3 separate regions of the Homo sapiens genome follow, and regions 1 and 3 are each linked to region 2. Evidence: promoter capture Hi-C in 16 types of primary human blood cells and fetal thymus (Javierre and others, 2016). All regions are on one chromosome and are shown on one strand. The core of a region is centred on a gene start or on the middle of the fragment in contact, and the rest is flanking DNA. Distances in the headings are between cores, read along the strand shown.

Evidence for each region. The method cuts DNA at HindIII sites, captures the fragments that hold promoters and counts their contacts. A CHiCAGO score of 5 or more calls a contact.
Region 1: a contact is called between a fragment that was not itself captured here and the fragment with the promoter of C18orf63 in region 2, in 1 of 17 cell types (erythroblasts). The highest score is 5.2, in erythroblasts.
Region 3: a fragment that was not itself captured here is called in contact with the fragment with the promoter of C18orf63 in region 2 in 4 of 17 cell types (M0 macrophages, M2 macrophages, erythroblasts and 1 more); the score reaches 8.6 in M0 macrophages.

The regions. Positions count from the first base shown.
Region 1 is chr18:74,240,774-74,243,588 of GRCh38, forward strand. No RefSeq gene overlaps it. Among named protein-coding and RNA genes, the nearest start is that of CYB5A, 50 kb to the right of the region's middle. RefSeq lists an enhancer at 1,841-2,135. The HindIII fragment of the contact is 1,220 bases long and covers 926-2,145 here.
Region 2 is chr18:74,314,564-74,317,409 of GRCh38, forward strand. C18orf63 (chromosome 18 open reading frame 63) reads left to right here and starts at 1,276. Exons shown (of 14, transcript NM_001174123.2): 1 at 1,276-1,546. RefSeq lists an enhancer at 1,484-1,653. The HindIII fragment of the contact is 4,843 bases long and covers 1-2,639 here.
Region 3 is chr18:74,201,448-74,204,147 of GRCh38, forward strand. No RefSeq gene overlaps it. Among named protein-coding and RNA genes, the nearest start is that of TIMM21, 54 kb to the left of the region's middle. The HindIII fragment of the contact is 6,951 bases long and covers 1-2,700 here.

The sequences.
Region 1 (2,815 bases), core at 286-2,785, 74 kb before region 2:
TCGGCTGGGCCAGAAGCTACTAGAAAGAACTTTGCTTGGGTTTCTTTCACTGAGAGACAGGTAACTCCTACTCATACAATGGCAGTTGTTTCTGAGAGAATACACAGAGAACCAAGAATTATAAATGGAAATTTATAATGTGAGCTCGAGATAGGGGAGAACAAAGCGATAGTCTAGATTCAGCAGTATAAACTTCAGAGGAAGTTCCATCAGTTCAGCTCAGCTTACTCGCCAGCTTACCTGTCTCTCTCCACGTCCTCTGAAATGCAAATAATCAATGCCCACGGGGTACTGACCTGCACAGTTGCCTGCCTTCTTGACTGCCTGCACACTCCTGCTCCAACTCGCTTATCAGTGTACTTGTTCCCACTCTGCTTATTTTAGCTTTATTTCTTATTTTATTTTTTTAGAGATGGAGTCTCACTCTGTCACCCAGGCTGGAGTGCAGTGGCACGATCTTGGCTCACTGCAACCTCTACCTCCTGAGTTCAAGCAATTCTCCTGCCTTAGCCTCCCACGTAGCTGGGATTATAGGCACCCGCCACCATGGCCAGCTAATTTTTGTATTTTTAGTAGAGATGGGGTTTTGCCACGTTGGCCAGGCTGATCTCGAACTCCTGACCTCAGGTGATCCGCCCACCTCAGCCTCCCAAAGTGCTGGGATTACAGGTGTGAGCCACCATGCCCGGCATTATATTAGCTTTAAATGTATTTACAATTACACTAATTGAATATGATGTAACCTGAGGAAAAATACAAGTTCAAAAGGAGAGATGTCCCCATAAAAACTATGTTGGATGCTGTTAAAAGCTTTGATAAAGGGATTGTTAAAATGACTCATTAGGCATGTGCAAGGCAGCTGTAAAAGACCAGGAAGAAAAATTCTAAAACTCTAAGACTTCTATGGTATGGAGATAGCTTTGGAAGCTTCTTTACGTTCTCATTCCACATTAAAGTAAGAGAAAGGGACATTTCGGATGCATCGTGGTTACAGAACTCCTATCAGAGGATCCAGACCCAAAAGATAAATCAAAAAAGCTCTTGGCAAATGAACTTAAAATGAGTTAAAATATAATCGTTTTCCACTTTACCTGACTTTGAGTAATCAACCATCCACCCATATAGTTAAGGGCATTCTATCTACTACATTCTAAAAATAGGGAGAGGAGACAGCCAACCCGAAATCATGAAAGAAATTAAGGCAATCTATGAGCACCGTTAAATTAATTTTTTATGAAGTTGTAATGCCATCAGGCCTGTATTGTTTTTTCTTTGCAAAGTCATGGCTCAGGAAACTGACAAATACTAGATACTTTGTAATCCCAAAGAGAAGAGAGCTTTAAAGCTGTAGAGGAACACAGGGAGAGAGGCACGTGCTACAGGTTTGCTTGGGTGAGAAGGGTTTCATGAGGACAGAAGTGAAAGTTATGGAATCCAGTTTGAACTCGAAACATACAGGGAAGCAGCCACAAATGGGTATGATTCTCAGGAGAGATAACTCTGAAAAAATATTAAAGGAAACATGAAGAACCATTGGAGAAAAAGGGCAAAAATCTACTCCATGGTTTCCCTAAAAGGATTTTGTTTTCTCTAACACATGAAAACTCCAACCAGAAACATTTTAGCTGCTCTAAATCACATCTGTGAATTCTGCAAGTTTCTGCAAGTTACTGCGAGTCTAGGAGTAAATCAGTAACGAAGCCGGCGCAAAGAGGAGAGAGAAAAGTGCTTAGTTATTGCTAGGTCTCAGTAGTAAGTCTTGGATGCTGAAATAATCAGTATTTTCCAGGAGGAGGGTGTCACTTGGGGGCGCCTAAAGCCAATAGATTCTTAGTTAAAAGGAAAGGCTGTTAGGCACTGGCCATAGTGCCAAGAACGTGAACTTCATCAACACCGAAGTCTACAGACTCAGGGTAGTGGCGAGCATGCTGAAGTTATGAGATACCGCAGATCAGCAGAGATAAAGAGGAACTGAGTTTATCAAACTCAGGTCCAAGAGCACAGAACTCCCCTGACCTCCGAGAACGAGCCGGCCCTGCCCTCCTACATGTTTGCTGTTGATAATCTTCCGCCCGCCCTCGCCCTCAGTCTTTTGGGCTGACACTAAGATCTAGGCACTAGCTTGACCTTCCAGAGTGTTTCACAAGCTTCCAGGATCTGGTGTACTAAGAATATGACAAACTTTGTCAGATAACATCTGTCTCTGCCTCTTGCCACGCTGACAAACTGTTGGAGTCTGAAAGTTCCCGTGCTCCAGTATGCACAGCCTGGACATCCTGCAGTTCTCAAAACCCCCTGCCTCTAAAGGCTGAGTTTGTAGGGTGCTTCAGAGCTGCCTGGGGCTGGGGGGCAAGAGTGATATCAAAGTGGTGTTTTAGTGAGAATAATCTCATCATGATGGGCACAAGAGATTGAAAATAGAGACTGGAAGTGGGAGACCAGTTAGGGGACTTCAGTTAACAATCACCTCCTTTGTCTCAGGAACTGGATGAGGCTCAGAGAATACACTGCAGGACAGAAATAATGGCCTGGGCAGATCCAGATGCGAGTAGGAAGTGAGCTTTTGCAGCAGTAACTCAGAGCAGCCGAGCTGCAGCCTAGATGAGGGCCGTGGCACTGGAGGTGGAGAGGAGGGATGGGCACTAGCAAGAGAGTAGACAGAGCAGCCACTGAGGCTATCTAGAAACAAACAGTACACATCAGCGATCAGTTTATCTTCAGCTGCAAAAGTCATATATTTAATTCCAACCATATGTAAGTGAACAAAGTATGGAGTGAAACAGTAAAAGCCCCTCCTCTGGCTTCACATCTCACC
Region 2 (2,846 bases), core at 26-2,525:
CTTGCTCCTCTTAGTCTTCCCCTTTGTAATTAATGGCAACCCAATCCTTCTGAATTCTTAGTATAAAAACCTTGGAGTGATGCTTGATTCCTCTCCCTCTCTCTCAGATCCCACATCAATCCATATCCAAATCCTATTAAATCTAATTTCAAAATATATCCAGAATCCAATCCCATCCCATCCCATTCCCTCCACTGCCACTGCTCTGATCCAAGCCACCTCTCTCCTTATTGCCATTGCCTCCTAACTGCTTTTCTTCCTTTCCCTGTCCCCTTCAGTCCATTCCAGCACAGCAGGCTGGATGCACCTTTAATACTTCCATGGCTTATCGGGCCTAACCCTGTCTGGCTCTCTGTAACTCCTCCTGCCTCACGGAGCCACTTCTTTCCTGCTCTACTGCAGCCAGCTGGCGTCCCTCCTGCCCTGGCCTTTTGTAGGATTCCCTCTCTCGTAACAAACATTCTCCCCCGAGACATGCACGAGGCTGCCCACTCTCACCGCCTTCATGTCTTTCTCAAACGTCCCGTTCTCCACGAGGCCTTCCTGACCACGCTATTAAACCTAACGACTTCTCCTCGGCACTCCCCGCCTCCCTACCCTACTTAATTTTTCTCCAATGCACCTATCACCATCTGCCACACTAAGATTTTGCACATTTATCTTGCGTATCTGTTTTCCCCCAACTACCAAGTAAAATGTGCATCCCACAAGGACCGGGAATGCTGTTTGCTTAGTGCTCTATCAGCAGACCTTAGAAACGCATCTGCACACAGTAGGCGCTTCGTGGATTTACTCCCACGAGCTTGCACCACGCTTCCCCTCCACACCAGGCATGAAGATGTTCCAGTCATGGAGATTCCCACCACTAAAGGAACTGCAGAAGCTGTAAATTCGGGCATGAGAATCTGAGGAGAAACGTGCCGAGGCAAGAGGCTGGGTAGCCCCTGTGCAGCACGCAGTTAGCCGGGGCTTCAGCGCCGGAGCTCCCCGTTGGACGTGTTGCGCTGACCCAGCTTTCCCGCCTTCGAGGGCGGCCAGAACCTTGTGTCCCGGCCCCACCCACACCAGCTCAGGCTGAGAGAATCTCACAGGGCTTCACTGGGTCATCCGTGACCAGCTTTGGTCGGTTCCTGCCTTGGCGGGAAAAGTTGACCTACATTGCGTGCCAGGAGCGCAAGGCTTGCAGGGCATGCTGGGAGAGCGCAGGGAACGCTGGGAGAGCGCGGGAAATACTGGGATTGGCTCCCGAGGGCTGTGAGGAGGGCACGAGGGGACACTCCGATGAAGGCAGGGCACGCGGGGCGAGCCGGGAGCGTCTCCTGAGGGCAGCGAGGAGGGAGCTGAGGCACGCGGGCTCTCAATCGACGCCCCACAGAGACCAAGAGGCCTGGCCTTGGGGGGCAGCTGCTTGAAGGAGGCAGAGCGGAAGCGAGGGAGACTGCTGGAGGCCCTGCCGCCCACCCGCCCTTTCCTCCCCCTGAGGAGACGCCTGACGCATCTGCAGTGCAGGAGGCCGTGGGCGTTAGAAGTGTTGCTTTTCCAGTTTGTAAGACCATTTTCCTGATTCTCTTCCCCACGGTTGCGGAGGAGCAGGTCAGGGCCGCCATGAGGGCAGGATCCCGGTGCCGGCGCCGGCACCCTGAGGACGTTGGTTTGGGTCAGGAAAAAAATGTATTCATCTGCAAAGACCCATGAGTCCCAATTTTTCGGGCATTTCATTATATCGGAAATTTATAGAATCACCTTTTAAAATGGATTTAGCTGAACAAAGACCTTAGATTCGTTTCCACTCACGTCCATTACTGTTCTCACAGAAGCCAGGCCGGAAGAGGGGTGGGCGCTCGCCTGGGGGCAGCGGCAAGCCGGGTCTGGGGCCGCCCTGAACCCCGCGCCCCGGGAGGATTTTTAGGAAGGGTCCCTCGTAGCGGCGGTCCCGAGGCTTAGCGCACAGCACTGCAGGAGCTGGGCGCTCCCAGAGTTTTGGTCCTTTGGGGTTCTCTGAGTCCTCCCTCACGTGTAGAATTGCGTAGGTGCCTGTTGCCTGCTCCTAGCACTTGTTCCTTGCCCTGCTGGGGATTGGGAATAAAGATGAAATCCTGGGACAGAAACGTAGTGGAGCGACTCCCTGGACAGGATGTTAATAGCGCATCCGTAGATCATAATAAGGCTTGGCCCACGTTTTGAGCTTCACAATATAGTTCTACAGCCTAGCCAAAGAAAACAACATTCTTTTTGAATCTGCAAGTTTTGCCAACTAGGAACTCACAAAATTAAACAATAGTAATAATTCTAATAAATTCATGCTTATCCCTGAACAGATCACTCTTGTTTACATACAGTGTTGCAATCCGTGAGTATTTGAAGATTGGCAAAACGGGAGGACTTGCACCCAGGAATTTTTTGGTGACCTGGAATTTACATTCCTACTGTATTACATTCCTGCTGGCATTGCCAGCATTCCTCAGATGACACCACAAACTCATTTCAGTACTGTGATCAGAAGGCTGGTCACACTGCACATTCCCGGGCCAGTATATTATTCTTTCTTAAAAAGAAAAAGCATGTTGATGTTGAAAAGTTGAAAGTACTAGAGTCCAGCTTACTTTTCCCTAATGTATTTGTGCATGTTAGTGTACTGAAGCTTCACTGGGTTGCTTTACTTTTATATTCCAGTTTTTGTTACTGTAGTAAAATGTAATGTAGACTTCAAAGGTATACCTTATGAATTATCAACTGTAAACTGTGCCTCCAATAGAATTTGAAAGCTGGATAATTTAGTGGAAACAAAAACTAGGTAACAATTTAGAGACCAGTAAACATTTTCTGTCGTGTACAATGAAAAATAA
Region 3 (2,700 bases), core at 65-2,564, 110 kb before region 2:
TTGTGAAGCCAACACTTACCTTCCTGGTCATTTGCCCCCAACTGACTGCCCTACCCAAGCCCCTTTGTCTTGTCATGTTTCCACAATTTATGACACTTTGTTCAACCTAGTGCATAAGTTCGTGGCCCCAACTCCTTCTTTGGGTCTTCGTTTTTCTTGTGAGGGCTCCCATGTCTATACAAAAATTACTTAATAAAATCTGCCTACTTTTCTCCTCTGAAGCTGTCTCTGTCAGTGGATTCACTGGGCTCATCTAGCAACTCTAAAAGGGCTGAGGAGAAATTTTGCATCCCCAACACAAACTAAAACCTGAAAGATGACTTAGCTGCTCTAAATATTGACCTGGTCATCTATAAAATCAAGGTAAGTGTTGGAAGTTTGCTGCATCCCCCCAAAAAGATATGTAAATGTGACCTTATGTGGAAATACAATCATTGCAGATATCATTAATGTGTGAATGAAGATAGATCATACTGGATTTGGATGGGCCCTAAGTCCAGTGCCGGGTGTTCTTATGGGAAGAGGTGGGACACAGAGAGATACACATGCAGAGGCCAGGCGAGGACAGAGGCAGCGATTGGAGTAATGTACCCACATATCAAGGAACAGAGAGGATTGCCAACAACCACCTCTCCAGAGGCTGGAGGAAGCAGGATGGACCCTCCCCTAGAGTCTTCAGAGGGAGAATGGCCCTGAGGACACCTTGATTTTGGACTTCTGGCCTCCAGAGCTGTGGGAGAGTAAATTTCTGTTACTACACCACCTAGTCTATGGTACTTGGTTACAGCATCTCTGGGCAACTAATACAGTGGGCTGGCTGTGAGGATTAAATGAGATTACGTAAGTAAATGCTTGTTCAGTGTTATATATCATCCCCTTTTTTTTTTTCTCTTCCCTAGGAACTAGAAATAGAAATAAACCCAAGAAGGGCTTTGATAATGCTGCTGTCACCTGAGAACTTAAAGGTGAGTCCTGCTGTGCTTTGATCAATCTAACCAAAACGCACAACCAGATTATGCATTCAGAGGCTCAGAGATTTGGAGCTGAGGGGTTTGACCCCACAGATATGAGGGGTATCTGCATGAAGCCTTACAGGAAAGGGTCTCAGTCTGAGCTGGTGACTGGATGCCTCAATGGGCCCCAACCCTGGGCAGGGGGTCCTTGGGACATGGGAGGAGCAGAAGCTGCCAAGTGAATTGTTTTGCTCTGTGATGGCAGAAGGACCTCAGGCCAGTCAGAGCCCAGGACCCCAGTGATTGGTAAGATGAGGGACACAGGTGATCTCCAAGTCCTCTCCATCCTCTCACTTCAGTAGCGCAATGAGTCCAAAATGTGGGGATCCAGGAATCCCAAGAGACCAGCCCCTGAGGCAGTGATACCATATGAGTTGTGCTATTCCAAAAGGACATCTCAAATCCATATTTATGCTTGATGCCCAATCCTACTCAATCCTCTATACTTGTGAGAGTAGCTCAGTTGCTGGAAATCATTTTTTCAGTTTCGTTGAAGATTAGTTGGCCTCGAGGCTCTGGTCTAGTAGAAGAGAAGTCCAGCGTTTGAATCAGATCATGGAAGATGGCTCTAGAGGAAGCTGATGTGCACATGTGTGGAGCCTGGGGGTCACCAGCCCAGTCACAGCCACGGCCCACGAGGGTCACCAGCCCAGTCACAGCACGGCCCACAGAGTACGGTCTTCCCATGGCCACAGAAGGAAGGGCTGGCCTCCCTGGCCATGATGGTGCTCTCAGTGCCCACGTGACGGGGATGGCACCATGTTCTTCCCCAGGGCTGCCATAACAAGGAACCACACCCAGGAAGACTTAGATACAGCTGTGGAAGCTGGAATTCCGAGATGAAGGTGCCCAGGGGCTGGTTCCTTCCGAGGGCACGGAGAGAGAAGCTGTTCTTGGCCTCTCTCCCTGCTTCTGGCAGCTGCTGGCAACCTTTGGTGCTCGTTGGTGTGCAGAAGCATCACCTCGACTTCTGCCTCCATCTTCACAGGGCCTTCTCCCTGCATGCATGTCTGTCTCCGCATCCACATTTCCCCTTTTGAAAAGGACACAGTCATACTGGCTTAGGGCCCACCCTAATGACCACATTGGAATTTGATTGCCTCTATAAAGACCCTATCTCCAAATAAGGTCACATTCTGAGGTACTGGGGGTTAGGACTTCAACATATGAAATTTTAAGGGACACATTTCAACCCATAATTGGTGGGTGCCCTTGCCCCGGGACTCCAGCTTCAGGGGAGCTGGGGGAAGGCCTTAAAGGCTGTAACACACAGTAGCCACATGGACAGGTTTCTGTGGCTTGCCTTCCAGAACCCAAGGCTATGCGGCTGTCAGACTTTTTTAGCATCTAGTGTCAGAAACACAACTCAAGCAAGTTTAGGCATAAAGGAAATTTAACAACCTCTGGAATCAAAAAAAAAAAAAAAATGGGTGGGGATTGTTCAGCCAGATATAAGAAGGCCAGAGATGCAGCTGCCTTCAAGGATAGCTGGGTCAGGCCTTGACCCCACGAGGATCTCCTCTCTGCACGTCAGCTCCCTCCACGCGGTGCAGCTGGCTTCCTTGGTGGGCCAGGAACAAGGCTGCACAGTGGCCTCACAGCCTGCGTGTCAGGGATGGGCTCCTCTTTGGCTCTGCTTCAGAAAGTCCCAGGAGAGGCCATCCCGGACCTGCCAGCTATGGGCTGG